Regions from separate parts of the Homo sapiens genome. Here regions 2, 3, 4, 5 and 6 are each linked to region 1. Evidence: promoter capture Hi-C in human tissues and cell types (Jung and others, 2019). All regions are on one chromosome and are shown on one strand. Each heading gives the region's core, a stretch centred on a gene start or on the middle of the fragment in contact. The rest is flanking DNA. Distances are from core to core; before and after follow the strand shown. Region 1 holds the start of KLB (klotho beta). Region 2 has its middle 29 kb from the start of WDR19. Region 3 overlaps WDR19 (WD repeat domain 19). Region 4 overlaps WDR19 (WD repeat domain 19). Region 5 overlaps WDR19 (WD repeat domain 19). Region 6 overlaps WDR19 (WD repeat domain 19).

Evidence for each region. Contacts are between HindIII fragments. The study calls those that stand out against the background at their distance.
Region 2: a contact is called between a fragment that was not itself captured here and the fragment with the promoter of KLB in region 1, in 1 of the 25 tissues and cell types used here (lymphoblastoid cells).
Region 3: a fragment that was not itself captured here is called in contact with the fragment with the promoter of KLB in region 1 in 5 of the 25 tissues and cell types used here (liver, lymphoblastoid cells, mesenchymal stem cells and 2 more).
Region 4: a fragment that was not itself captured here is called in contact with the fragment with the promoter of KLB in region 1 in 2 of the 25 tissues and cell types used here (IMR-90 fibroblasts and lymphoblastoid cells).
Region 5: a contact is called between a fragment that was not itself captured here and the fragment with the promoter of KLB in region 1, in 3 of the 25 tissues and cell types used here (adrenal gland, lymphoblastoid cells and mesenchymal stem cells).
Region 6: a fragment that was not itself captured here is called in contact with the fragment with the promoter of KLB in region 1 in 7 of the 25 tissues and cell types used here (H1 embryonic stem cells, aorta, liver and 4 more).

Annotation. Positions count from the first base shown.
Region 1 is chr4:39,405,598-39,410,109 of GRCh38, forward strand. It overlaps KLB (klotho beta), which reads left to right and starts at 1,333. Exons shown (of 5, transcript NM_175737.4): 1 at 1,333-2,177. The coding sequence starts at 1,353. The HindIII fragment of the contact is 19,436 bases long and covers 1-2,166 here.
Region 2 is chr4:39,151,361-39,155,829 of GRCh38, forward strand. No RefSeq gene overlaps it. Among named protein-coding and RNA genes, the nearest start is that of WDR19, 29 kb to the right of the region's middle. The HindIII fragment of the contact is 6,621 bases long and covers 1-4,469 here.
Region 3 is chr4:39,229,231-39,233,664 of GRCh38, forward strand. It overlaps WDR19 (WD repeat domain 19), which reads left to right. Exons shown (of 37, transcript NM_025132.4): 18 at 2,567-2,726; 19 at 2,932-3,042. Among named protein-coding and RNA genes, the nearest start is that of WDR19, 49 kb to the left of the region's middle. The HindIII fragment of the contact is 4,326 bases long and covers 960-4,434 here.
Region 4 is chr4:39,276,033-39,281,024 of GRCh38, forward strand. It overlaps WDR19 (WD repeat domain 19), which reads left to right. Exons shown (of 37, transcript NM_025132.4): 34 at 988-1,111; 35 at 2,099-2,175; 36 at 2,507-2,631. The coding sequence ends at 2,618. Among named protein-coding and RNA genes, the nearest start is that of RFC1, 88 kb to the right of the region's middle. The HindIII fragment of the contact is 8,469 bases long and covers 1-4,992 here.
Region 5 is chr4:39,250,970-39,255,497 of GRCh38, forward strand. WDR19 (WD repeat domain 19) reads left to right here. Exons shown (of 37, transcript NM_025132.4): 25 at 2,177-2,323; 26 at 2,937-3,061. Among named protein-coding and RNA genes, the nearest start is that of WDR19, 71 kb to the left of the region's middle. The HindIII fragment of the contact is 3,716 bases long and covers 1,088-4,528 here.
Region 6 is chr4:39,203,850-39,209,035 of GRCh38, forward strand. WDR19 (WD repeat domain 19) reads left to right here. Exons shown (of 37, transcript NM_025132.4): 8 at 1,305-1,417; 9 at 1,714-1,887. Among named protein-coding and RNA genes, the nearest start is that of WDR19, 24 kb to the left of the region's middle. The HindIII fragment of the contact is 8,963 bases long and covers 1-5,186 here.

The sequences.
Region 1 (4,512 bases), core at 83-2,582:
TTCTCTTTTTTTTTTTTTTTTTATTTTGAGACCGAGTCTTGCTCTGTTGCCCAGGCTGGAGTGCGGTGGTGCGATCTCAGCTCACTACAACCTCCACGTCCCAGGTTCAAGAGATTCTCCTGCCTCAGCCTCCCAGGTAGCTGGGATTACAGGTGCCCACCACCGTGCCCAGCTAATTGTATTTTTAATAGAGACGGGGTTTCAACATGTTGGCTAGGCTGGTCTCAAACTCCTGACCCCAAGTGATCTGCCTGCCTTGGCCTCCCAAAGTGGTGGGATTATAGCCATGAATCACTGTGCCTGGCCTTTCGTAATAATTTTCTTGAACTAAAATTTGGGATTAGGCCAGGCATGGTGGCTCACACCTATAATCCCAAGCACTTTAGGAGGCCGAGGCAGAAGGGCTGTTTGAGCCCAGGAGTTCAGGACCAGCCTGGGGGACATAGCTAGACCCCACCTCTACCAAAAAATCAAAAATCAGCTGGGCATGGTGGCATGTGCCTGTTGTCCCAGCTACTTGGAGGCTGAGGAGGGAGGATTGCTTAAGCCTGGGAAGTTGAGGCTGCGGTGAGCTGTGATGACACCACTGCACTCCAGCCTAGGCTACAAAGCAAGACTCTTATTAAAAATTAATTAATTAATTAAAAAATTAGAGATTAGAGAATTTTAGTTAAGTTAAATAAATAAAATAAAAAATAAAATTAGAGATTAGAGGATTTTAGTTAAGTTAAATGTATTAAATTGAAAAGTATTTCATTTTTCCATCCACAAAGTGCTATATTTTCTCATTCAAGTCTTCTCTCAAATCTACCAATACATTTTTGCAATTTTCCTAAAATAGGTAACATTTATTAAGATTGTTCTTAGATGCGTTATAATTTTGTGGAGAAGTGTAATTTCTTATTGTGTTTTCTAATTCTTTACTATTGGTATGTAGGAATGCTATATACTTGTATATGTTATTTTTCTTGATATATGAGATTATAAAATTACCACACAAAAACTCTAAAAATAGAAAAGCTATATACCTTATTCAATAATGTTCAAAACATTCAGAAAAGATTTGGGTCAATATGAAAGGCTACACGGAAAATAATGTGATTTTAATCCAGTGTTTACATATGTGTTAGTTACACATTCAAACTCTTGTCACCGATGCATTTTCATCTAATTTTTTCCATAATGAGAGAGAAGGAGACGCGTTGGTGACTGCAATAGGGCCACCTCCCTCAAATTACGTTGCTCTCTATGACCCATCCTCAGTCTCCCAGTTCAAGCTAATCATTGACAGAGCTTTACAATCACAAGCTTTTACTGAAGCTTTGATAAGACAGTCCAGCAGTTGGTGGCAAATGAAGCCAGGCTGTGCGGCAGGATCTCCAGGGAATGAATGGATTTTCTTCAGCACTGATGAAATAACCACACGCTATAGGAATACAATGTCCAACGGGGGATTGCAAAGATCTGTCATCCTGTCAGCACTTATTCTGCTACGAGCTGTTACTGGATTCTCTGGAGATGGAAGAGCTATATGGTCTAAAAATCCTAATTTTACTCCGGTAAATGAAAGTCAGCTGTTTCTCTATGACACTTTCCCTAAAAACTTTTTCTGGGGTATTGGGACTGGAGCATTGCAAGTGGAAGGGAGTTGGAAGAAGGATGGAAAAGGACCTTCTATATGGGATCATTTCATCCACACACACCTTAAAAATGTCAGCAGCACGAATGGTTCCAGTGACAGTTATATTTTTCTGGAAAAAGACTTATCAGCCCTGGATTTTATAGGAGTTTCTTTTTATCAATTTTCAATTTCCTGGCCAAGGCTTTTCCCCGATGGAATAGTAACAGTTGCCAACGCAAAAGGTCTGCAGTACTACAGTACTCTTCTGGACGCTCTAGTGCTTAGAAACATTGAACCTATAGTTACTTTATACCACTGGGATTTGCCTTTGGCACTACAAGAAAAATATGGGGGGTGGAAAAATGATACCATAATAGATATCTTCAATGACTATGCCACATACTGTTTCCAGATGTTTGGGGACCGTGTCAAATATTGGATTACAATTCACAACCCATATCTAGTGGCTTGGCATGGGTATGGGACAGGTATGCATGCCCCTGGAGAGAAGGGAAATTTAGCAGCTGTCTACACTGTGGGACACAACTTGATCAAGGTACTGTACAGCTAGCTTCTTCTTATAGCTTCAGAAAACACTAAGAATTTAAGAATTTACCTTCTGCCTCAGTAATTCTCTTCACTGAAATCAAGGCAACTGATTTTAAGCTAATTCAAAAGATCTATCCTCAAATTTTGCATTTAAGTTAGTGTATGTTTTATTTATCTAAGGTATTTTTAATGTATTAATCCAATTAGTTTTTTCAAAAGTTGCACTTTGAGGCTATTTTTAAATCTACCATTATACACTACAGTGTGAATATATGAGCTTACTTTCATTCTGTGGGAAAACAGTGCTTCATAAATTTAATTGTTGGAACCCTTTTCTGACAACATGCAATCATTTCAGAATTATCTTAAGGCACAACCATTTCAAATATGTATTTGTTGTTAAGTATAGCTAACTTAGCTAATAAGTAAATAAAGTAAGTAAATAAGTAAGCCAAATAAATGTTAGCTAACTCATGCATATTAAATACAGAAATTTAAATATACTTCACTTTTGATTTTATTTGTGTTACATAGCAAAAAAGAGAAGATTAATTGTTATGGGAGCTAAACACATTTCTTCCCATAAGAACTGGGAAGAATGTGCTCTACTAAAGCAATTTTCAAGCAATATATTTCAAAAGCTAGAGATAATGTTGAGAAATGTTAAAATTAGTAAAACAATAGTGAAAATACAAGCAAAATAATAGGTAATAATTACTGAGTACTTATTATGTACCACAGACTACATTAAGTATTTTACATGCATCGTTACAGTTGATCCTCTTAACAGCCTTTTGAACTAGTTTTATTATTCTTCCCATTTAAAAGATGAGGAAACTGAAGCTTAATGAGATTAAATAATTTTCCCAAGGTTAAGGAGTAAAATACAGCTGTTGTGGACATGGATTTTTTAAATGACAACATAATTAACACTAACTGTCTTCATTAAGAATGCTTTGAAAAGAAGACTCAGGAATTTGCAAGAGATTTAGCCTCACATTGAGGCTAATATCTAGAATCGAATTTAACTTTTTGAGTCAAATAGTTTACTTAGGAAAAATAAATTATTCTGCACACCTGTTACATTTTAAAAATGAAAAAACTTTATCAATATAATTTTATAATGTGCTACAAAAAGTAATTTAATTATTAATAATCAAAAGCTAAATATACAGAAGTAGAAAAAAAATACAGCAACATAAAATAATTCCATGTCTAAATTTGTACATACAAAAATATCTGCTATCACTTCTTTTCTTTTTGAACTTTTCTGGATTATTACACATGTGCATTGTACTATGGTTTCAGATACATCTGCCCTTGAGGTAAACAGATTGCATTATGATTTCAAGGTCATTTGCATATCTTTGACTAGAGTTGTATATAGAACATATTAATGTGTGGGTATACTGTGATTTGACAAAATAAGACCTTAAAGGGTAGAAATTGTATAGGTATTTAACAGTTATCAAGATTATGCATACAAAAGTTAGAAAAATATTCCTCTCATTTAGTCCTTTTAATTTTCTTTTTTTTTTTTTTTGAGACAAAGTCTCACTCTGTCACCCAGGCTGGAGTGCAATGGCGCAGTCTTGGCTCACTGCAATCTCCACCTCCCAGGTTCAAGCAATTCTCCTGCCTCAGCCTCTTGAGTAACTGGTACTACAGGCACATGCCACCAGCCCAGTTAATTTTTGTGTTTTTAGTAGAGAGGGGTTTCACTATGTTGGCCAGGCTGGTCTCCAACTCCTGACCTCATGATCCACCTGCCTCAGCCTCCCAAAGTGCTGGGATTACAGGTGTGAGCCACTGCGCTCAGCCAGTCCTTTTAATTTTTAAAACAATTCATGCTCATGTACATTTAAAAATATCAGATTGGGCCGGGCACAGTGCCTCATGCCTGTAATCCCAGCACTTTGGGAGGCCAAGGCAGGTGGATCACAAGATCAGGAGTTTGAGACCAGCCTCGCCAACATAGTGAAACCCTCTCTACTGAAAACACAAAAATTAACTGGGCGTCGTGGCACGTGCCTATAGTCCCAGTTACTCGGGAGGCTGAGGCAGGAGAATCCCTTGAACCCGGGAGGCAGAGGTTACAGTGAGCCGAGATCACGCCACTGCACTCCAGCCTGGGCGAGAGTGAAACTCTGTCTCAAAAAAATAATAAATAAAAAATAAAAATATCACATTGTACCAAAGGATCTAAAGTGAAAAAGTTAAATCCCTCTCCCTCTCTTCACCTGACAATCCCAGGCCAAGGACGCTACTGTTAATAGTTTCTTATACATTCTTTTTAAAGTTTTCTATGCAAATACATGCATGAATATGTTTATTTAACCTTT
Region 2 (4,469 bases), core at 1,791-4,290, 250 kb before region 1:
ATGCTCCTTGAGTAGTATGCCATGATTGGTCTTACTTAGTAAGTTATTTACTAACTTTAATTTATTGGTATTAAAATACCAATAAATTTCAGCTTCAAACAATAATCAGAATAGAGACTGACTGCACTTTACTTTCATTGTCCTGCCATAAAGATATTTAAATTCTCTAATGTGTGTTATAATCTGATAAACAGTGTTTAAATAGGTTGCAGTTTCTCATTTTATTGATGACAGGCTCATTAAGGATGATTCAGAAACCATAATATTAGAAGTTCTGTCTTCCTTCATTGCTTTCATGACTGAAGGGAACAGGGCACTAAAGAGAAGTACAGAGAAGTAATTTGCCCATAGAGACACAGCTCAAATACAGATAATGTGGCTCTAGCACCCTGGCTCCTAACCACTCCTCTATGCAGCATTAGAAATAAGAATGTTGGCCAGGCACGGTGGCTCACGCCTGTAATCCCAGCACTTTGGGAAGCCGAGGCAGGCAGATCACAAGGTCAGGAGATCGAGACCATCCTGGCCAACACGGTGAAACCCTGTCTCCCCTAAAAATACAAAAATTAGCCGGGCGTGGTGGCACGTGCCTGTAATCTCAGCTACTCGGGAGGCTGAGGCAGGAGAATCGCCTGAACCCAGGAGTTGGAAGTTGCAGTGAACCAAGATCGCCACCGCACTCCAGCCTGGCGACAGAACGAGACCCCATCTCAAAAAAAAAGAAAAAAGAAAAAAGAAATAAAAGAAAGAATGTTTGGCTGAGAGCGGTGGCTCACGCCTGTAATCCTAGCACTTTGGGAGGCCAAGGCAGGTGGATTGCCGAGCTCAGGAATTCGAGACCAGCCCGGGCAACACGGTGAGACCCTGTCTCTACTAAAATACAAAATAATTAGCCAGGCATTGTGTTGTGCGCCTGTAATCCCAGCTACTTGGGAGGCTGAGGCAGGAGAATCACTTGAACCTGGGAGGCGGAGGTTGCAGTGAGCCTCGGCTCCACTGCACTCCAGCCTGGATGACAGAGTGAGGATCCGTCTCAAAAAAAATAAAAATATAAAAAAGAATGTTCATTGTTGCATTTTCTAATTTAAAAAACCTTGCTGGAAACTAAATGTCCATCAGAAAAAGAATGTATAAGTATATTGTGATGTAGCCATACAATGGAATACTGTTTAGCAGTTACAAAGGTATGCGTCAACATAATGAGTCCCAGAAACACAGGGTTGCATTTTGTTTTAAAGGCATGTGGCTAGGCACAGTGTCTCATGCCTGTAATCCCAGCACTTTGGGAGGCTCAGGCAGGAAGATCACTTGAGCCTAGGAGTTCCAGGCTGCAGTGAGCTATGATCATGCCACTGCACTCCAGCATGGGCAACAGAGTGGGACTCTGTGTCTAAAAAATAAGTAAATAAATACATAATTTAAAAGCATGCAAAACATGATTCAATATAAAACCATGTATATATAAAAATTTGTCAAAAAATTCTATACAGTCTATATATTCCTTCCATATATTCTATGTAGTGTTTCCAGATACATATATATATAGCAAAAGTATGAAAATATTCATAGCAATAATAAACCAAATTTGGGATAGTGGCTGCCTTTGAGAAATAGAATCAGGAAAAACAGGCATGCAGCCTTAAACTTATCTATAAGGTTTTGTTTTTAAAAATGTATTAGGCTGGGCATGGTGGCTCACGCCTGTAATCCCAGCACTTTGGGAGGCCGAGGTGGGCGGATCACCTGAGGTCAGGAGTTCGAGACCAGCCTGGCCAAGATGGTGAAACCCCATCTCTACTAAAAAAAATACAAAATTATCCAGGCATGGTGGCGCATGACTGTAATCCCAGCTACTCGGGAGGCTGAGGCAGGAGAATCGCTTGAACCTGGGAGGCGGAGGTTGCAATGAGCAGAGATTGCGCCATTGCACTCCAGCCTGGGCAACAAGAGCAAAACTCCATCTCCAGAAAAAAAGTATTAAAGTCCTCATCAAATAAGGCACAATGCTAAGACTATTCCGAATCTGGGTGATGGGCATAAGAGCATTTATGATATTTATTTTCTTTATTGTTCTGTGTCCCTGAAATTTTACATGATAAAAGTCCAGCATTTGTTCACATTAAAATGGTTAATTTTATGTTATATGCATTTTACCTCAATAAATATTTTCTCTTTTTTTTTTTTTTTGAGACGGAGTCTTACTCTGTTGCCCAGGCTGGAGTGCAGTGGCATGACCTCAGTTCACTGTAGCCTCTGCCTCCCAGGTTCAGGCGATTCTCTGCCTCAGCCTCCTGAGTAGCTGGGATTACAGGCATCACCTGTACAGTGTACAGTGCCACCACACCAAGCTAATTTTTGTATTTTTATTAGAGATGAGGTTTCACCATGTTGACCAGGCTGGTCTCGAACTCCTGGCCTCAAGTGACCTGCCCACCACAGTCTCCCAAAGTGTTGGGATTACAGGCGTGAGCCACTATACATGGCCTCAATAAATATTTTCTTAATATTTAAAAAATGAGTTCAGGTGGAACTTAAAGCTCTCACAAACGTTAATGACATTTTCTTTGACCATATCTACATAATGCAAAAAAAAACAATAAAAAGATGTAACTTTATTTTGTATTAATTATACCAGTGTGGGCCAGACAAGGTGGCTCATACCTGTTAATATAGTTGGGATTTGTGTTCCTACCCAAATCTCATGTGGAATTAGAGGAGGGACCTGAATGGAGGTGACTGGCTTATGGGGTGGATTTCCCTCTTACTCTTCTCATGATAGTGAGTGAGTTCTCAAGAGATCTGATGGTTTAAAAGTGTGTGGCACTTCCCCCTTCACTCTCTCTCCCTCTTCTGCCACCATGTGAAGAAGGTGCTTGCTTCCCCTTTGCTTCCGCTATGATTGTAACTTTCATGAGGCCTCCCAGTCTTGCAGAACTGTGAGTCAATTAAATCTCTTCTTCATAAATTACCCAGTCTCAGGTAGTTCTTTATAGTAGTGTGAAACAGACTAATACACCTGTAATCCCAACGCTTTCGGGCGCCAAGGCAGGAGGCTCTCTTGAGCTCAGGAGTTCAAGACTAGCCCGGGCCACATAGTGAGACCTCATCTCCACAAAAAAATTTAAAAATTAGTCAGACATGGTGCTGCATGCCTGTAGTCCCAGCTACTTGGGGGCTGAGATGGGAGGATCACTTGAGCCCACCATTGCACCATCACACTCCAGCCCGGGCAACAGAGTAAGACCCTGTCTCAAAAACAAATAAAAAATTGTATCATTGTGGTCCTCATAAGTGTGATTTTTAATAGGTGTACGGTTCCATATTCAAATCATTCTAGAAAAAGAATAATTAGGACCCTTTAAATAAAATATTCTTCATTCAGTGTACTACAAATAATAACTTGTCATTATCTACCTTCCTTACTCACTGGGTGACTTCATGTCATCTGAACCCTGGCTGAGACAATTAACTAGATGTAAGGGATTAACACAAATTGTTCACAATTTTTCTAAGCAGTCAAATATCCTCCAACTGAAAAAAAATGTTCCTAATAAGAATGGTTTTTAATTTAGCTATTGACTCATTTCCCACCAATGTAGTATCACATTTATAATTTAGATTTTATTATTCTAAATGGCTATTTGAGGGCATATTAAGAAAGAAGCTACAATATAAAGAACAAGTATTAGAGTTAAAAAGAAAACTAATAATTACATAGCCTCTTTGAACCTTTAAGGCCCTTATTTACAAAATGTACAACAATGCTTAGAGAAAAGGATAACTGAGATAATTATTCAAGAAGCATAAATAAAAGCTTTTTATAAATTCCAAATGACTCCACAGAAGTGGGTAATTTAAATTTAAAAACCAAACGATTGAATCAAAATATCAGTTGGCTTCTTTGCAGAAATCAACAAGCTGAATCCAAAAATTAGTATGAAAATTTAAGGGACCCAGAATAGCCAAAACAATGTTGAAGAAAAAGAAAAAAGTTGGAGGATTCACACTTTTTCATTTCAAAATTTATCACAAAGCTATAGATATTGAGACAGTGCTGTACTGTCATAAAGATAGACATGTTGATCAATGGAATGGAATTGAGAGTCCAGAAATAATCCTTAACATTTATGATCATTTTTGACAAGAGTGCTAAGATGATGGGGAAAGAATAGTCTTTGCAACAAGTGATGCCATACACATGCAAAAGAATGGACTTGGACCCTATTAAACACCATATACAAAAATTAACTCCAAATGGATCAAAGATCTAAATGTAAGAATGAAAACTATAAAACTCTCAGAAAAAAACAGAGGCATAATTCTGAATGAACTTGGATCAGGCAATCATTTTTTTTTTTTTGAAACGGAGTTTCACTCTTATTGCCCAGGCTGGAGTGCAATGGCGCGATCTCGGCTCACTGCAACCTCCGCCTCCTGGGTTCAAGCAATTCTCCTGCCTCAGACTCCAG
Region 3 (4,434 bases), core at 1,873-4,372, 170 kb before region 1:
TGACTTTGCTATTGTGAATAGTGCTGCAGTAAACATATGAGTGCAGGTGTCTTTTTGATAAAATGTCAAATCCTATTCAATAGATGGAGATAACAGCACTTACCTTGTTCATTTCACAGGGATATTGTGAGGCTCAGATAAGATAGTCAGCTGTTTTTATTATGAGTACTTTATTACAAGAAAAGCCCTTAAGAACAAAACGGTTTCTAAGCTTCCAGAGAGCCTAGTTATTGGGAAATCCTAATAAAATAAACCTAATTATTTCAACAATATCTTGACTTCATCATAGTGAGGTTTGATTTTGCTTTGCTTATAATTTCCTTTTACTGTTTTTTTCTCTTATCTCCTAGAGCCACCGTGAATTCCTTTGACGTTCTAATTCTTCCGAGCCTCTCTTAAATGCTGCTGTTTATTGGGGTCTCATGAGTTTCCTTCTCTTCTTACTCTAATTATTCTTCCTGAGTGAATCTCCTCTGCTTAACATGGCTCAACATACCACCCATATGAAGCTGACTCTAAAATCTGTGTCTTTATCTTAAACCTGTACTTACAACTACCTTCCAGTCATGTGTCCTTGGAAGTCCATGAGCTCTTCAAACTTGCCCTTTCTAAAACTGAACTCATCAATTTCCACAGGCCCCTATTTTCCCTCACTGTAATCACACATGCACATGCCTTAACACACATATACACCAGCTCCTTTCCTCCTCCCGTGTTCCCTCATCTTTACCCAGGCCCTCACCTGGAATAATGTGTAATGTAACTAACCACTTCCTAACTGCTCTGTCTGCCAATAGCCTTGTAACGATCTCATCTGTTCTCCACACACTTTTGAAGATGTGATTTGATCCTCTTATTTCCCTGCTCAGGATCCTTCAGTGACTTTCTATTGCCTTTACAAACAAATCCATTCCTGGGGGACCTCTATGACCTACTAGGCACTTCATGATTTAACACCAGCTCAACTGTCTCCACTCAAGTCCCTCTCTGTTCCACTGGCTGCTGAAATTGCATATATTTCATGATTCTTCCTGGAATGCCCTTTCCCTGCTCTGAATGTAGTAACCCCTCTTTCTTTACCCATCAGCGATAAGTGGAGCCATCTCCTGCTCCAGGAAGCCTTCCCCGACTTCCCCACCACCACAGGCAGTCCTGCTTGGGGTCTTTCTGATGTGTTGCCTCAGAGCCAGGATGCAGTATACACAGTGGTGAAGAGCATGACACCACTTACCTCTGTGTGCCTTGGGCTAGTCTTTTGACGTCTCTAAGCCTCATTTTCCTAATCTATAAAGGAGACATAATAATAATACTTAGTGGGTAGGGTTATTAGGGTAAGAGAATTTATGCAAAAGACTTAGCACAAAGAGTTACCTATTGTAAGTACTCAGTTACCTCTGTCAAACTATGCTATAGTCATTTGTTTCCTTATCTGTCTCTTCCACCTTCCCCAATTGTGACTGCCTTAAGGACAGCAACTGTGGTTGATTTTTGTATCATGTTTCCAAGCATGTAACGAGTTCAGTAAATGTGTGTTGGATGAAAAAATGGATAGGTGAATAGATAAATGGATGAATGAATAGATAGATGGATGTAATATATTCACTCATGTAGAGGTTCCACAAAAAGTTTAATTGGCATTTATGTTCATGTTTTAAACCAGAGGTCGGAAAACCTTTTGTGTTAAGGTCCAAATGGCAAATATTTCAAGCTTTACGGGCCATAGGGTCTCTATCGCAGCTACTCAGTCTGGCTGTTGTAGCAGGAAAGTGGCCACAGACAATCCATTAAAGAGTGGGCTGGGCCGGGGACGGTGGCTCACACCTGTAATCCCAGCACTCTGGGAGGCCGAGGCGGGCGGATCATGAGGTCAGCAGATCAAGACCATCCTGGCTAACACGATGAAACCCTGTCTCTACTAAAAATACAAAAAATTAGCCGGGTGTCATGGCATGCGCCTGTAGTCCCAGCTATTCGGGAGGCTGAAGCAGGAGAATAACTTGAACCCAGGAGGCCGAGGTTGCAGTTAGGTGAGATCACGCCATTGCACTCCACCCACCCTGGGCAACAGAGTGAGACTCCGTCTTCAAAAAAAAAAAAAAAAAAAAAAGAGTGGGCTGATCAGTGACTTTGTTCCACTCAAGCTGTATTTTCAAAACAGCACCTGACTAGATTTGGCCCATAAGCCATAGTTTGCTGACCCCTGTTTTAAACTTCTAAATTTATAGGAATAGAATACTAATTTTATTAGACTTATATGAGAACAAAAATAATATTCATCTATGTGTGAAATAAAAAGAAATAAATGAATAGGATTAGCTTAGTTAATTGAGTAGGCTTATTACAGAGTAGATTCAGATTAATAAAAGAAATTTAGGGAAAAACATTTATCTGTAAAAAAAGGAAGAAAGCTTAAGTGTTTTTTCATTACTTGTAAATGACAATTACAGGTTAAGAAATGTTTTAGACAGTTTATCTGGGGCACGCTATTAGATGACATGTAGTCTGAAAATTGCCTAACATGTGGCAAGTGGAACATTCTGATTAAGCTTATGTTCTTACATCCCAGGTTTTCTGATGCTTGGGAAATGTGCAGGATTCTGAATGATGAGGCTGCCTGGAATGAGTTGGCCAGAGCTTGTCTACATCACATGGAAGTGGAGTTTGCAATCCGTGTTTATCGGAGAATTGGAAATGTTGGCATAGTGATGTCCTTGGAACAAATAAAGGTAAACAGCATGTTATAGAATTATCAAGTTAAAATTTAAATGCTATTTTAAGTTAAATGCAGTCTAAATTTTTTGCATTTAATCTTACCTCTTAAACAAGTGAATCGATAGAACGTTACCACTTCCTACTGATCAAAGTCCTTAAAAAAAAAAAAAAGTTAAACTCTTGCATTTTTTTTCTCATCAGAATTGCTTTTATTTGTAGGGAATAGAGGACTACAATCTTTTGGCAGGACACCTTGCCATGTTTACCAACGATTATAACCTGGCTCAGGACTTGTACCTTGCATCCAGCTGTCCTATTGCTGCCCTGGAGGTATGGCAGCAAGTAAGAATGGAAATTGTGTAAGAGGTATCCAGTGGGGAAATGGGGGAAAAAAAAATGGGGCCGGGTGCAGCCGCTCACGCCTCTAATTCCAGCACTTTGGGAGGCCAAGGTGGATGGATCGCCTGAGGTCAGAAGTCCTAGACCAGCCTGACCAATATGATGAAACCTCATCTCAGCTAAAAATACAAAAATTAGCCGGACGTGGTGGCATGTGCCTGTAATCCCAGCTACTCAGGAGGCTGAGACAGGAGAACTGCTTGAACCTGGGAGGTGGAGGTTGCAGTGAGCCTGTAATCCCAGCTACTGTAATCTCCTGCCCCAGCAGGAGAATTGCTTGAACCTAGGAGGCAGAGATTGCAGTGAGCCAAGATTGTACCACTGCACTCCAGCCTGGGTGACAGAGCGAGACTCCGTCTCAAAAAAAAAAAAAAGGAAAGAACATAAGAATATCAAAGGAGGATCACCCCTTCTATATAATTAAAATTTCTCAGCACAGACACTATATGCCTTCCCCCTCCTAAAATTCAAACATGTCAGTTTAAGAACCCCTGAGTACTCATTAATTATAATGTTAATCATTAAAATTATAATTCAAAAATGTTTATTCTGCATTTTGTGGAGGTATAAAATGCATGGTATTATAACATTACTAATTGAAATCTAAATGTGTCCAAAGAGAACAGATTGTGTAAATTACAAAAACATATACAAGGAAAAATATCACCATATATTGAGTGCTCATGTGGGCCAGGCATTTTTCTAAGCACTTATCATGTATTAATTCATTTAACCCTCCCAACAATCCTATGAGATAGGATTGGTTTTTTCTCTATTTTCCAGATGGGAAAACCGAGGCACATTTATCCTTATTGTGTGAAATTCTGTTGTGTATTAAAAGGTGAGCTAAGGACTAGTGTACCATCACTGGTTTCCCAGAGGTGAGCATTGCAGGAGAGGGCCTAGAGCAGGATGAAGGGCCTGGTTAGTTCAAGGGCAGGGAAGAAGGGAAACCTGGCAATATAGACTAGCAATGAGGGGCATAGACTTCACAGTCAGACATGTCTGGGTTCAAATTCCAGCTCTGTGTAAGCTTGGACATGTTATTTAACCTTTCTGAACCCTAGATCCTATTTCTTTAAAGTAGGAAGAATAATATCTAACCCACGGGATATTTGTAAGGATTTAAAAATGAGAATGAGGTCTTTTAGCACAGTGCCTGATCAATAGTAAAGACACATAATTAGCTATTGTAATCATTAATATTATTTCACCTAAAACTGGCATTTCTACAACTATGTAAAAGAGCTTGTTTTGGGAGCGTTTGTTATTAATTTTACAACTTTCCTTTTACAAATCATTCTATAGCAAATTTTCATTTTT
Region 4 (4,992 bases), core at 225-2,724, 130 kb before region 1:
GTAATTCTAAACAACCACTTTTTCAGAAGTGATGACATGTGGGGTTCCTGTTCATTACATTATGACGAGACCCAGGTACCTGAATCTTGGATCCAGACCTTAGCCCAGGGAGATGACTGGATTGGTAATGACAAATGGAAGCAAATGACACTTCACTGGTAGCTGGGCTTGGGAGCTACCCTCATGGCAGAGAGCTCTAAGCTGGATGGGAGTACATAGAATACTCCTTTTTTTAAGTCTAAGTAGCTTCAGACCAAATCGGTCTGACCCAGAATACCTGCTAGTATGGAGAGTGGGATGGGGAGAAGGTAACTAGAAAATGCAAGATCATGTTTACCCCAACAGCATAGAACCACGCTAGCTGGGGCTCTGGCTGGGAGGAGATGCTAGTCATTCTCTCCCCATGCACAAATGGTTTATAGCTATGTGGTCCAATATGGTACCTGCTAGCCACATGTGGCTATTTAAATTTAGTTAAAATGGAATAAAAGTTAAACTTAGTTCTTCGCACTACCCGTATTTCAAGTGTTCAAATGTGGCTCATGGCTACCATATTGGATAGCACAGAATCCAAACATTTCCATTGTCACAGACAGTTCTATTGGACGGTGCTGGTATAACTTGTACCACTTCTGTTACACAAAAGGGAGAGACAGAGGGAAAATACCAAGCTCACCACTCCAGTAGCACAGGAAGAGAGAAGACCGCAAGACCTACCCATGCTTTCTGCCGTTGAATGTGCTATGAACTCCAGTTCCCAAAGGTGGCCCATGTAACACCCTAGAACCTAACCAATCCTAGGTACTCTTCCTCCTCCCTGGAGTGGATCAAGGGCTGGTGTGAGCTTGTAAGTATCTCTCTAAGCCCAGAGTCTGACTATGAAGTAGGTGTGTCATATGTCCCTGGTTTTCCAAATATGCTTTCTCTTTGCCATCCCCGGTACATGAATAAAACGGCATTTTTAAATGACATGATTCTTCCTCACAGGAGACCCGATATATCTGAGATAGAAGAGGCCACGACTCCATGTCCATTCTGCAAATTTCTTCTCCCAGAGTGTGAACTCCTCTGTCCTGGATGTAAAAACAGTATCCCATATTGCATTGCAACAGTGAGTTCCTTTATAGTAATTTCCCTTTCTTTGCATATATATTTGTAACCCATTTGAATACTTGATGTATGTCAATATTTTCTTCACTTTTAAAATAATCTTATCCCTCAAATTTCCTGCAACATCTAGCATTTTATTTCATAGTCAATACAGTTAAAGGTGATATTCAAAGCAAATAATAATAGTGGAGGCACTATCACTGCAGGACCAAATAGCACAGACTCGGGGATCAGACTATCCCGGGCTCAGTCCTCTGTAGTAACACCTGCCTACTGAATCAACCACAGATTGACGAGCTACACAATTCCTTGGTGCCATCCTGGCAGGCTGCAGCACTTAATAAGCAGTAGTTTTTATTATAATATTGAGACCTAGTATCAGAGAACTTTAACATATCAGGTTATTTATAATTCACTGGATTAATTTAAGCTTTATTTTAAAGAAAACTAAATTCAGGTAATATCACAAAACTGAATATTATTCCTTTAAACATGAATCTGATAAGTAAAACCTAGCTTTAATCCTTTTAATGCTGTCTCTCTGTTACCCACACATGTGAAATAGCAATGATTTTATAATTTAGAGGTCTGACTTATAACTGGAATTCAATTATTATAATTGAATAACAGGCAGGGTACAGTGGCTCATGCCTGTAATCCTAGCACTTTGGGAGGCCGAGGCAGGCGGATCATTTGAGGTCAGGAGTTGAAGACCAGCCTGGCCAACATGGTGAAATGCTGTCTCTACTTAAAACACAAAAATTAGCCAAGCATGGTGGCGCACGCCTGTAGTCCCAGGTGCTCAGGAGTCTGAGGCAGAAGAATCGCTTGAACCCAGGAGGTGGAGGTTGCAGACAGCCAACAATGTGCCACTGCACTCCAGCCTGGGTGACTGGGCAAGATTCCGTCAAAAAAAAAAAAAAAATTGACTAACAGTGGGAGTTTTTAAAATAAAGATGAATTTAACTCTTAAACATCCTGTTTCCAGGGTCGACACATGTTGAAAGATGACTGGACGGTGTGTCCACATTGTGACTTCCCTGCTCTATACTCAGAATTGAAGATGTAAGTGTGCATCACGTCACTCAGTCTCACTGATTTCTCCCGACACAGGCCTTTCATTCTACCTCTTTTCTTCCGAAGCATTCTTCTATTTGTGTTCCTAAGGATCTCTAAAGACTCAAATTGTCTTCTGGGAAGAACCTCCTGTGACCTTTGAGAATATTATCTTTAAAGAGGATCTTGCATGAGACTGAATAGTTCTGATTCTCAAATTGCATGGTGGACATGTGTTAAGAGGTGTAGACAGAAAGTTGTTGTCTTTCTCATTAGAGTAACCCAAAGCTAAAGGAATGTTATATATTTAATTTACTCTGCCTTTCCCTCCCCTAAACAGCATGCTAAACACTGAAAGCACATGTCCTATGTGTTCAGAAAGATTAAACGCTGCTCAGCTGAAAAAGATTTCAGACTGTACCCAGTACCTGCGAACGGAGGAGGAACTGTGATTGGCACGTGCAGGTGAGTGGCAGAGCGCCCACGCACCTTCTGGGCGCAAGGGCCCACAGCGTGCACGCAGCTTTTCACTGTGTATCAGCATCAACTCCTTTCAGTGCACCATGGAACTTGCCAGATTTGAACAATCTGACAACCACCTTTTGATGTATTTTTTTTAATGCTAAAATGCAGGTATTATCATCTCCATAATGACAAAGGTTGTTTAGCCAAGCAGTATGATTCTGACTAGACCAGATTTTGTCAAATCTCACAGGGGTCTTTTTAATCACTCCATTAAAACTAGAGCCAGCTAATAAAAGTATTTTTTTTTAGGGTCTGTGATATAATTCAGGAGAATATATTGTAAAAATGTTGGCTTCCAGAGATTTGGAAATAATCTCCATTTCTTTTTCTTTCCAAGTCCCATTTTTGTCACGTGGAAGCTACACATATTCCTTCTACTTCATTCCATTGGAAGCACTTACTCGTGGCCACACATACTGCGGAGGAAGGCAGGGAAATGTAGTCTTTAATTGAGAAGCCAAAAGCCGTGCCAAAACTCAGGATATTCTTTTACCAAAGGGAAAGGTGAAAGTAATTCATCTCTGACACAGCATCTCACACTTAGCCTGGTTAGATAGGAGTCGAGATGTCCCTCCACAACCTCTCTCTGTTTTCCCTTCCTCAGGAAGCGGCAGCTCCAGCCAACCAGTTGGACAGGACAGAAACCTACATATTATCTAGATACCTCTCACCCTCAGCCCCCATGAGCAAGGGCTCTCAGGCTATCTCCAGTATATCTGGTTCGTGGTTCTCTTGGCTTTTTATTGCACCTGCAAAAACAAAGAGCCTCCAAGTCTGTCCATGAACAGGCCCAGCCTCCTCCTCCTGCCTCAGGTCTGATTACTCACCATGTTGCAGCCCCACTGGCCTTCTTGCCCTTCCCTGGCCACTCCAAAATGTTTTCCACAGAAGTTGCACCCTCTTACATTCCCACCATCAGCACACAAGCGTTCGTCTCTCCATTCCACATCCCTGCCAACAGCTGCTGTCTGCCTTACTTTTTTTTTTTTTTTTTTTTTGAGACAGTCTTGCTCTATTGCCCAGGCTAGAGTACAGTGGCATGATCTCGGCTTACTGCAACCTCTGCCTCCCAGATTCTAGTGATTCTCGTGCCTCAGGCTCCCTGAGTAGCTAGGACTACAGGCGTGTGCCACCACGCTCGGCTAACTTTTGTATTTTTAGTGGAGACGGGGTTTCACCATGTTGGCCAGGCTGGTTTCCAACTCCTGACTTCATGCGATTCGCCGGCCTCAGCCTCCCAAAGTGCTGGGATTACAGGCATGAGCCGCCACACCCAGCCGGGTGTTTGTCTTTTTATTGTTCAGTTCTAAGAGTTCTTTATATGTTCTAGATACAAGTTCTATATCATGTATATGATTTGGAAGTATTTTTTTGTGGGTTTTTTTCCCTTTTCTTGTTTTTTTTTTTTTTTTTTTTTTAATAGAGGCAGGGTCTCGCCACATTGCGCAGATTGGTCTCGAACTCCTAGGCTCAAACAATCCTCCTACCTTGGCCTCCCAAAGTGCTGGGACTACAGGCATGAGCCACCATGCTCAGCCTTGGTAGCATCTTTGATGCACAAGTATTTTATTTTGATGAAGTCCAATTTATCTGTTTGATTTTCACCCCCTTTGGTTGCTTATGCTTTTGGTATTGTATCAAAAACCATTGCCAGGCTGGGCACAATGGTGCATGCTTATAATCCCAGTGCTTTGGGAGGCCAAAGTGGTAGGATCACTTGAGCTCAGAAGTTTGAGACCAGCCTGGGCAACATAGTAAGACCATGTCCCTACAAAAAAATAATTAGCCAGGTATGGTGGCATACACCTGTAGTCCCCGCTGCTTGGGAGGCTGAGGCAGGAGGATCACTTGAGTCTGGGAGGCTGAGGCTGAAGTGAGCTGTGATCAAGCCACTGTACTCCAGCCTGGGCAACAGGCTCAAAAAACCAACCAACCAATCAACCATTGTGTAAAGTAGACACAGTGGCATGCAGCTGTTATCCCAGCTACTCAGGAGGCTGAGGCAGGATTGCTTGAGTCCAGGAGTTCAAGACCAGCCTGGGCAACATAGCGAGATCCCATCTCTAAATAAAAACAGTGCCTACTCCAAGGTCATGAAGATTTACACCTGTTTCCTTCTAGGAGTTTTATAGTCATTACTCTTATATTTAGGTCTTTGATCCACTTAGTTTTTGTGTCTGGTGTGAGATAGGGATGCAGCTTCCTTCTTTTGCATGTAGATATCCAGCTGACCCGGCAGAATTTGCTGAAAAGACAAATTTTCCTCATTGACACTGGATTATTGTCTATTTGAGATGTAAG
Region 5 (4,528 bases), core at 1,696-4,195, 150 kb before region 1:
GCTACCAATGACTTTCTTCACAGACTTGGAAAAAACTACTTTAAAGTTCATATGGAACCAAAAAAGAGCTTGCATCGCCAAGTCAATCCTAAGCCAAAAGAACAAAGCTGGAGGCATCACACTACCTGACTTCAAACTATACTACAAGGCTACAGTAACCAAAACAGCGTGGTACTGGTACCAAAACAGAGATATAGATCAATGGAACAGAACAGAGCCCTCAGAAATAATGCTGCATATCTACAACTATCTGATCTTTGACAAACCTGACAAAAACAAGCAATGGGGAAAGGATTCCCTATTTAATAAATGGTGCTGGGAAAACTGGCTAGCCATATGGAGAAAGCTGAAACTGGATCCCTTCCCCTTACACCTTATACAAAAATTAATTCAAGATGAATTAAAGACTTACATGTTAGACCTAAAACCATAAAAACCCTAGAAGAAAACCTAGGCAATACCATTCAGGACATAGGCATGGGCAAGGACTTCATGTCTAAAACACCAAAAGCAATGGCAACAAAAGCCAAAATTGACAAATGGGATCTAATTAAACTAAAGAGCTTCTGCACAGCAAAAGAAACCAACATCAGAGTGAACAGGCAACCTACAGAATGGGAGAAAATTTTTGCAACCTACTCATCTGACAAAGGGCTAATATCCAGAATCTACAAAGAACTCAAACAAATTTACAAGAAAAAAACAACCCCATCAAAAAGTGGGTGAAGGATATAAACAGACACTTCTCAAAAGAAGACATTTATGCAGCCAAAAAACACATGAAAAAATGCTCATCATCACTGGCCATCAGAGAAATGCAAATCAAAACCACAATGAGATACCATCTCACACCAGTTAGAATGGCGATCATTAAAAAGTCAGGAAACAACAGGTGCTGGAGACGATGTGGAGAAATAGGAACACCTTTACACTGTTGGTGGGACTGTAAACTAGTTCAATCATTGTGGAAGTCGGTGTGGTGATTCCTCAGGGATCTAGAACTAGAAACACCATTTGACCCAGCCATCCCATTACTAGGTATATACGCAAAGGATTATAAATCATGCTGCTATGAAGACACATGCACACGTATGTTTATTGTGGCACTATTCACAATAGCAAAGACTTGGAACCAACCCAAATGTCCAACAATGATAGACTGGATTAAGAAAATGTGGCACATATACATCATGGAATACTATGCAGCCATAAAAAATGATGAGTTCATGTCCTTTGTAGGGACATGGATGAAGCTGGAAACCATCATTCTCAGCAAACTATTGCAAGGACAAAAAACCAAATACCTCATGTTCTCACTCATAGGTGGGAGTTGAACAATGAGAACACATAGACACAGGAAGGGGAACATCACACACCAGGGCCTGTTGTGGGGTGGGGGGAGGGGGGAGGGATAGCATTAGGTGATATACCTAATGCTAAATGACGAGTTAATGGGTGCAGCACACCAACATGGCACATGTATACATAGATAACAAACCTGCACGTTGTGCACATGTACCCTAAAACTTAAAGTATAATAATAAAAAATAATAAAAAAAAATTAAAAAATTTTTTAAAGAAGTGTAACTTTCTATAGCCTCTGGAAATTAACTTAGAAATATCTATTAAGGAACTTTTAAAGGAGATTTAATACCCTTTTAAATACTTTTAGAAAAGTAACCTTAGGAAATAGAGATATACACTGAATGTCTTGTTGAAATGGAGCTGAGAGCTGGTCAGGAACTGAAGAGGGGTCCTGAGCTCTATCTAGAGGTCAACACTAAAGTTTGAGCTTTGTGACTAAGGATATATAAAGGTTTTATATATCAACATTAAGCTGTATCTATAATTGTGAAAAAAATCTACATTTTCTATATTACTATTATAATCTTCCTACTTAAAAGGAAAAAAACAGTAAAATGTTTAAAAATATATAGCTTTGATTCAGATGGGAAAATACAATTTAATATTGATATTTTACTGTTCATTTATCAAATTCCTAAACAGAACATTTTAGTGGGATGGTTCCTGGTATTTTTCTGATAAAGGAAAAAGAAGTTCAGGAAAAATAAGCAGTCACCATCAATAAAATTTAAAAGTGTCCTAAACATTTATCAACATTTTCTCCCCAAATTGACAGTGTTAAAAAAAGTTTATCTGAGCTATTTTTTTACAGATACAAAGAAGCTGTTGTAGCTTATGAAAATGCAAAACAGTGGCAAAGTGTAATCCGCATCTATCTGGATCACCTCAATAATCCTGAAAAAGCTGTCAATATTGTTAGAGAGACCCAGTCTCTGGATGGAGCCAAAATGGTAGCCAGGTAACATAATACATTAATATTTTTGGACTTTCAAAAACTAACCATAAAAGTAAGCCTCTGCCTTCTATCATCAAATATATTAATTCAAAAGGAATATTTAGTCTTTATTTTTTTATCAGGTCTAAGCGTTTAAATTCAAAGGCTGTCGTGGTCAGCAGACAAGAGTATGTCTTTCAAGTGTAAGCATATAATATAGAACTGCATGCTGGGCATGGTGGCTCACACCTGTAATCCCAGCACTTTGGGAGGCTGAGGCAGGTGGATCACCTGAGGTCAGGAGTTTGAGACCAGCCTGGCCAACATGGTGAAACCCCATCTCTACTGAAAATACAAAAGATTAGCTGGGTGTGGTGGTGCATGCCTGTAGTTCCAGCTACTTGGGAGGCTGAGGCAGGAAAGTCGCTTGAACCCAGGAGGCGGAGGCTGCAGTGAGCTGAGATTGCACCACTGCACTCCTGCCTGGGTGACAGAGTGTGACTCCATCTCAAAAAAAAAAAAAAGAACTGCAATTTATCTAAAAATTTTGATTTTTAAATGGTTTCTCCTGGTTGAAAAATTTTGTAAATCACAAATTTATATTAAGAGTCTAGCTAATTAAAGTACTTTGCTTTAGGTTTTTTCTACAGCTTGGTGACTATGGGTCTGCCATCCAGTTTCTTGTCATGTCCAAATGCAACAATGAAGCTTTCACACTGGCTCAGCAACACAACAAAATGGAAATCTATGCAGATATTATTGGTAAATATCATTTTTTCCCTGGTTCTCTTCAAGATGTTTATCATAAAAACACTTTGTCTCTTATGATCTAATTATCAGATTGGTATACATACAAGAATGCGCCTGGTGTAAATGTTTACCATTTATACATAGACACACATGTATCTATGTTATGTGTTGGATTTGAAGATCCCTGCTACTTCAAGGTGAGATGGTATTATTAAAAAGGACTATTTTCAAAAATTAAGGGTTTTTCTGTGTGAATTCCAAGAGAGGCTAGATTTCCCAAATCCTGCTATTTATCAGCCAGTAGTAAATCAAAGATTTCAAAATGAAGGTGATAGGAAATGCAAGATGATTTTTGAAAATGTAAATATTTTCATTAAAAAATTGAGTTACAAATTAAGAAAAATGCTTACTTTGGTGAACAGTGATATACACAAGATGTGTTTTTCAAAGATTTGGACAGTCCAAAGGATAATTTGATATTCTGAGAATGCCTGTTTAGAGGTTTTCTTCTCATGTTTGCAATTATTTTTAGAAACTACTGAAATAATTTTCAGATTTTCATTTCATGGACCATACATAATGTTATTTGTGTTTTGTTTTGTTTTCTTATTGTGCTAAAATATATATAATATAAAATTTCCATTTAAAAGTGTATAATTTGGTACATTCATTCACGTTGTTATGCGGCCATCACCACTGTCCATCTCTAGAACTTTTTCATCATCCCAGACTGTCCCTGTACCCGTTAAATAATAATTCCCCATTGCCCTCTTTCCCCCAGACCCTGGTAACCATGATTTTACTTTCTGTATCTGTGAATTTGACTATTCATGGTACCTCGTATAAGTGGAATCATAAAATATTTGTTCTTTTTGTGTTATTCTGTTTTTTAAAATCCACGAAATGACCATAAGAATTGATGTTAGGATTCACAAGAAAATATTTATTTCAGTCTTCAAGGAAACAAATTAATTAGGTAAAAGCTTCTTGGGATGCTTTGGCTTCCCAAATGACTTCTTGCAAAGTTATTAAGATAATTAGAGAAAACAGAGTTAAAAAAAAGAAAAGGAGTACAGATAGGCAACTTTAGAATTGCCAATGTTTAACTTGACAGATGACATTTCTGTCCTAACATTACTACCACCATTTCACTAAAGCAGTTTTTCTAAGTTTGTAAGAATATGGTTTGTCTTATATAAGATGTGTATATTGGTGGGGGGTGTGTGGGCCTCCTCCCACCTTCAAAACACACACATACTTTTCCCCACTTTGCTTTATGCCTTTCTCTTATAAACTCCCTCTTCCTCCAGCTGGAGGCGCAGCATGGTTGTTATACTTTAGTATTCTATTGGGCCCCAACTCCCACGGGTAAATGTAAACAATGAGTTGGAATTCCAGTAGCTTTTGGGGTCCTTCTTCCTCTATGCTTAATATATTTAAGCCCCAAGCCAAAGGAAAGACAGTCATATCTTTAACCAG
Region 6 (5,186 bases), core at 1,266-3,765, 200 kb before region 1:
GTAGAGCTAGGTCTTTTAGTCCCTAAAAGTTGTTGTAATTGCTACTGACTACCTGGCATTACAGCAAATGAGGACAGCTTTCTGTTACAATTGGTATTGCTCTTTTCATTCTTGTGATAGCAAAAACATTAGGGGTACCTTGCAGAACAGAAGTATTAATTCATATATTATTTTTAAAATTTTTACTCTATGAGATGTGGTTAGCAGACCTCTTGAAGTTGTAGGCTTGTTTTTTTTTGTTTGTTTTTTTTTTGAGACAGAGTTTTGCTCTTTTTATCCAGGCTGGAGTGCAGTGGTGCAATCTCAGCTCACCGCAACCTCCACCTCCTAGGTTCAAGCGATTCTCCTGCCTCAGCCTCCCTAGTAGCTGTGATTACAGGCATGCGCCACGACACCCAGCTAATTTTGTATTTTTAGTAGAGATGGGGTTTCTCCATGTTGGTCAGGCTGGTCTCAAACTCCCGATCTCAGGTGATCCACCTCCCTCGGCCTCCCAAAGTGCTGGGATTACAGGCGTGAGCCACCGCACCCGGCCAAAGTTGTAGCTTTTGGTTAATACTTAGATGCATCTTCCCTGCCACATCTTAACATTCTGAAATCAGTATGATTTTCACAATCAATATGAATATATTTAATAAAGTAGTAGTTCTTTGTTTCCTAAAAACCTATTAAATTGATAGTGACTTACAATTGAGAGCATCTTATAATTAAGGAAATACATGATAATGAGCCCAAATAAGTAATGTACTTTTTTCTCCCCAACATAATTACATCCTCCACTGGGAATTACACTTAAGAATTTACTTGCATGAGTAGCAAAGAGACACTAGTTTAGCCAACACTGACCTGCAGGTGATGGAACCAATGATGATATAAAAGCCAAGCTGGAGTATCCACAGGAGTGTGGACCTATAATCCCAAATGGCTCAAGAGCAGAACAGCCTCTTAGAGTGGAAGAGTCTTTATAATCTAAATATGAATTCATTTGCAGTGGAACTGTCAGACTTACAATCCTGTAGTGTGCAGTACTCTAATGAAAGGTATAGAAAATTTAAATGGACACTCCACAAAGGAATTGTAGTATATTTCAAAGGGTATATTGAAGATGTGTAAAACCAAGGACGCTTACCAGTTTATATATTAGTAAATACATTTTTAGTCATATTGTACTAGTTACAGCATTTAGCACATCTAAATTGGGCTTATTATTTTCACAAATTAGGTTCAGCTGTTGGATTTGCTTAATGGTCTTTTCATGAAGTACTAAGTAACTCATTTCACAATCTCCTAATCTTTTCTGGCAGATAAGTGTGGTGCTTGGCAAGAAAACTTTGTTTTTTTTAAATCTGAATGAACCAGATAACCCAGCTGATCTTGAATTTCAGCAGGACTTTGGCAACATTGTCTGCTATAATTGGTATGTCTGCTATAACTGGTATGTACAAAAAGCTCATTACAGAAGGACATCTGTAGGTTTTTCCTTACTAATTGTATTCAATTTTTGTTTGTAACATTCAATTCTATACGTCACATTTTCTGATTCATGGTCTGTGATTTAGTATGCAAAACTACCTAGTATATTATCTGACACAAAGTAGGCCCTTGATAAATTATATTCTATAATTCCTTAATTTTAAGGTACTTGCTAATTTACCATGTTGCCACTGATAGCTAATCTCCTTGTTTACCATATTGTTGCCTTCTTTGCTATAGGTATGGTGATGGCCGCATCATGATTGGTTTTTCATGTGGACATTTTGTGGTCATTTCTACTCATACTGGAGAGCTTGGTCAAGAGATATTTCAGGCTCGTAACCATAAAGATAATCTAACCAGCATTGCAGTATCACAGACTCTTAACAAAGTTGCTACATGTGGAGATAACTGGTAAGTTATTTTCACATATTTTTAGGAAAGCTTATATAGTAAATACTTAAGTGAATCAGCCAAACTTTGTTAGCTAATATGAATCTGGCAATCATGTTTACAATTTAAAACGTCTAAGACTACTTTGCTCCTGATTTTAATATTCAGGGCAAAAATATAAAACAAAGTATAGTTGAAAATCAATCTTAAAAATAAAATAGGTAGTTCTGGGTAACATGGAGTAAGCACACTCCACCCCATGTCTCCCACTGAGTACAGCTATAAAACGTGAACAGAATGCATGGAGCAGATATTTAAGGACTCTGAAAAGTAAATGGTAGCAGGCAGATTGGAAAAGAAGACGGAATTTGAAGTGCCAACTAACCAGTGGGGAGTCTCCCACTTGTCCTCTGCTGTCTCACAGCCAGGACTCAAGGAAGTCTGAAACCTAGAAGTAGGCACCAAAGCACAGAGAGAGCTTTAAGGAAACTCTCTGGTTCTGGCTTAAGTTGCAGGAAAGAGAACTTATAATGCTCAAAGGCAGTTGGGGAAATCCCCTGGTTTTCTTTTTCTTTTTTTGTTCTTTGTTCTCTAATGCTCCAGCCACCAAGCAGTCTCCCCATGGCAGTGGCAACAAGAACAGTGGCACCAAGGACCCACAGGCACCTAAAACTCTGATGGAGGATAATCTTCTCTCCAATTAGAGGCTGTGGCTTCAAGAAGATAGGGCAAACCACTATTGCCTATTTTTCTCTCTGTCCTCCCTTGGTCACAAGTGCTCATACAGTGTGGGAATTATGTGGTAGAACAGAGTAACTAGAGATCAAGCATTAATAGAGGACCAAAATTAGGAGACCTAGGGATTGGAAAGTACTAGATTGATCATAGGGAGGAAGGAACTCAGGAAAGCAACCCTGTAAAGATATTTATGAACTCCTGGGTTCATCCTTAAGCGCATATGTATAGACTTATCCTAAACATATACCAAAGACCCTGTGAACTGAACTGAGACATAGATCATAGCCAAGGTCTTATACTAGCCACTGAGTGGGCCATAGAGGGACATATCTGAATACCACTGCAAAGGCGTTGAAAATAGAACTGACATTGAAACCGTCAGCTACAGAAGGCTCCTTGAAACTTGTGGCCTGAACCCAGCCAGGTTGATGGCCTGCTGAAACAAAAATATTAACCTTCTCCATGGGATTTAGATTAGACACAATCTCATAATTTCACAAGGTCCAGAATAGAACCCCAAATTACTTGACATATGAAGAATTAGGAGAATTTTAACTCGCTCAGGAAATAACAATAAAAAAACACCAATGCCAAGATTATGCAGATAGCAGATATAGAAATGCTCCAAGAGGTAAGGGCTAATGCTCTTGAAACAAATGGAAAACTAGAAAGTCTCAGAAAAGAAATAGAACCAATAAAGAAGAACCAAATGGAAATTTTAGAACTATAAAATGCAATAAATTTGATAGACTTAGTAGCAAATGGAGAAAATAAAGAGTCAGTGAACTTGAAGAGAGATCATTAGAAAATATCCAATCTGAACATGGAAGAAAAAAATGAAACAAAATTATTTGTCCCAGAGACCTATTAGACAGTAACAAAAGGTCTAGTATTTGTGTCTTCGGAATCCCAAAAATAATGGCTGGAAACTTTATGGCAAAAGACATAAACGTGCATATTGTAGAAGCTCAGCAAGTCCCCAAAAGGATAAACCAGAAGAAATCTAGAGCTATTCACATCATAATCAAACTGTTGAAAAATAAAGACAAAGAAAAAATCTTGAAAGCAGCCAGAGAGCAACATTTTGAATGACAGTGGATTTTCTCACCGTAAAGCATTGAGGCTAGAAGGAAATGCCACAATATTCTTAAAGTGCTAAAATAAAAGCATTGTCAACTGAAATTCTTTATCCGGTGACAATGTATGTCAGTAAATGAAAGTGAAATAAAAGCATTTTTAGATGAAGGAAAATGAAGAGACTATCTTGCTCTCTAAAAGAACTGCTGAAGGAAGTTCTTCAGATAGAAGAGAACTGAGAACAGAAGGAAATTTGGGACATTAAGAATGAAGGAAGAGCAACAGAAATGGTAAATATCCGGGTAAATATAATAGACATTTTTCTTTTGAGATCTTTAACGTATATGTGATGGTTTAAAAAAAAAATTATAATATTGCTCAGTAGGGTGTTTAATGCATGAAAATGCAATATATAAGACAACTATACTATAAAGGGGAGAGAGGGTAAAAGTTTTTGTATGCGATAAGACTTCTACATTCCACTTGAAATGGCAAAATATTGATTCTAAGTAGACTATGAAAACTTAAATATGTATATTATAATCTAGAGCAACCTCTAAGAAAACTATTCAAAGAAATATACAAAAGCACAATAGATAAATTAAAATGGAATACTAAAAAATGTTCAAATCTAAACAAAGGAAAGAAACAGGAATAAAAACAAATAAAAGAGAGAACAAATAGAAAGCAAATAATAAAGCAGTAGACTTCAATTCAAACATGTCAGCCCATTAAATGTAAGTGAAAAACTTATTAGACATAGACTGAGTGGATTTTTTTTTTTTTTTTTTTTTGAGACAGAGTCTCACTCTGTTGCCCAGGCTGGAGTGCAGTGGCATGATCTTGGCTCACTGCAACCTCCGCCTCCCAAGTTCAAGTGATTCTCCTACCTCAGCCTCCCAAGTAGCTGGGATTACAGGTGTGCACCACCATGCCTGGCTAATTTTTGTATTTTTAGTAGAGACGGGGTTGTACCATGTTGGCAGGCTGGTTTCGAACTGACCTCAAGTGATCCACCCGCCTTAGCCTCCCAAAATGGTGGGATTACAGGTGTGAGCCACCACGCCCAGCCTAGAATGTATTTTTAATGACCCTATTAAAAGGGTCATTGTAAGAAATTCACTTCAAATATAATGATATAACCATGTAAAAGGATAGAAAAAGACCATACAAATGCTAACCAGAAGATAGCTACTCTAGCCATCATTTACATTGATATGTTTGAACTTGGCACAGCATTTAACCTTGTATTAGGTACTGTAAGTGACCTAAAGATGACTGAAAGTATATGGGAGGATGTGTATAGGTTATATGCAAATACAACATCATTTATATAATGGACTTGAGCATCTGTGGATTTTGGTATCCACAGAGGGATCCTGGAACCCAATCCTCTTGGGATACTGAGGGACAACTGTAATGTATAGAACCAACTACGCAGAAGGTCAACAAGGATATAAAAGACTAGGTCAGCACTATAAACCAACTAAACCTAATAGAACACT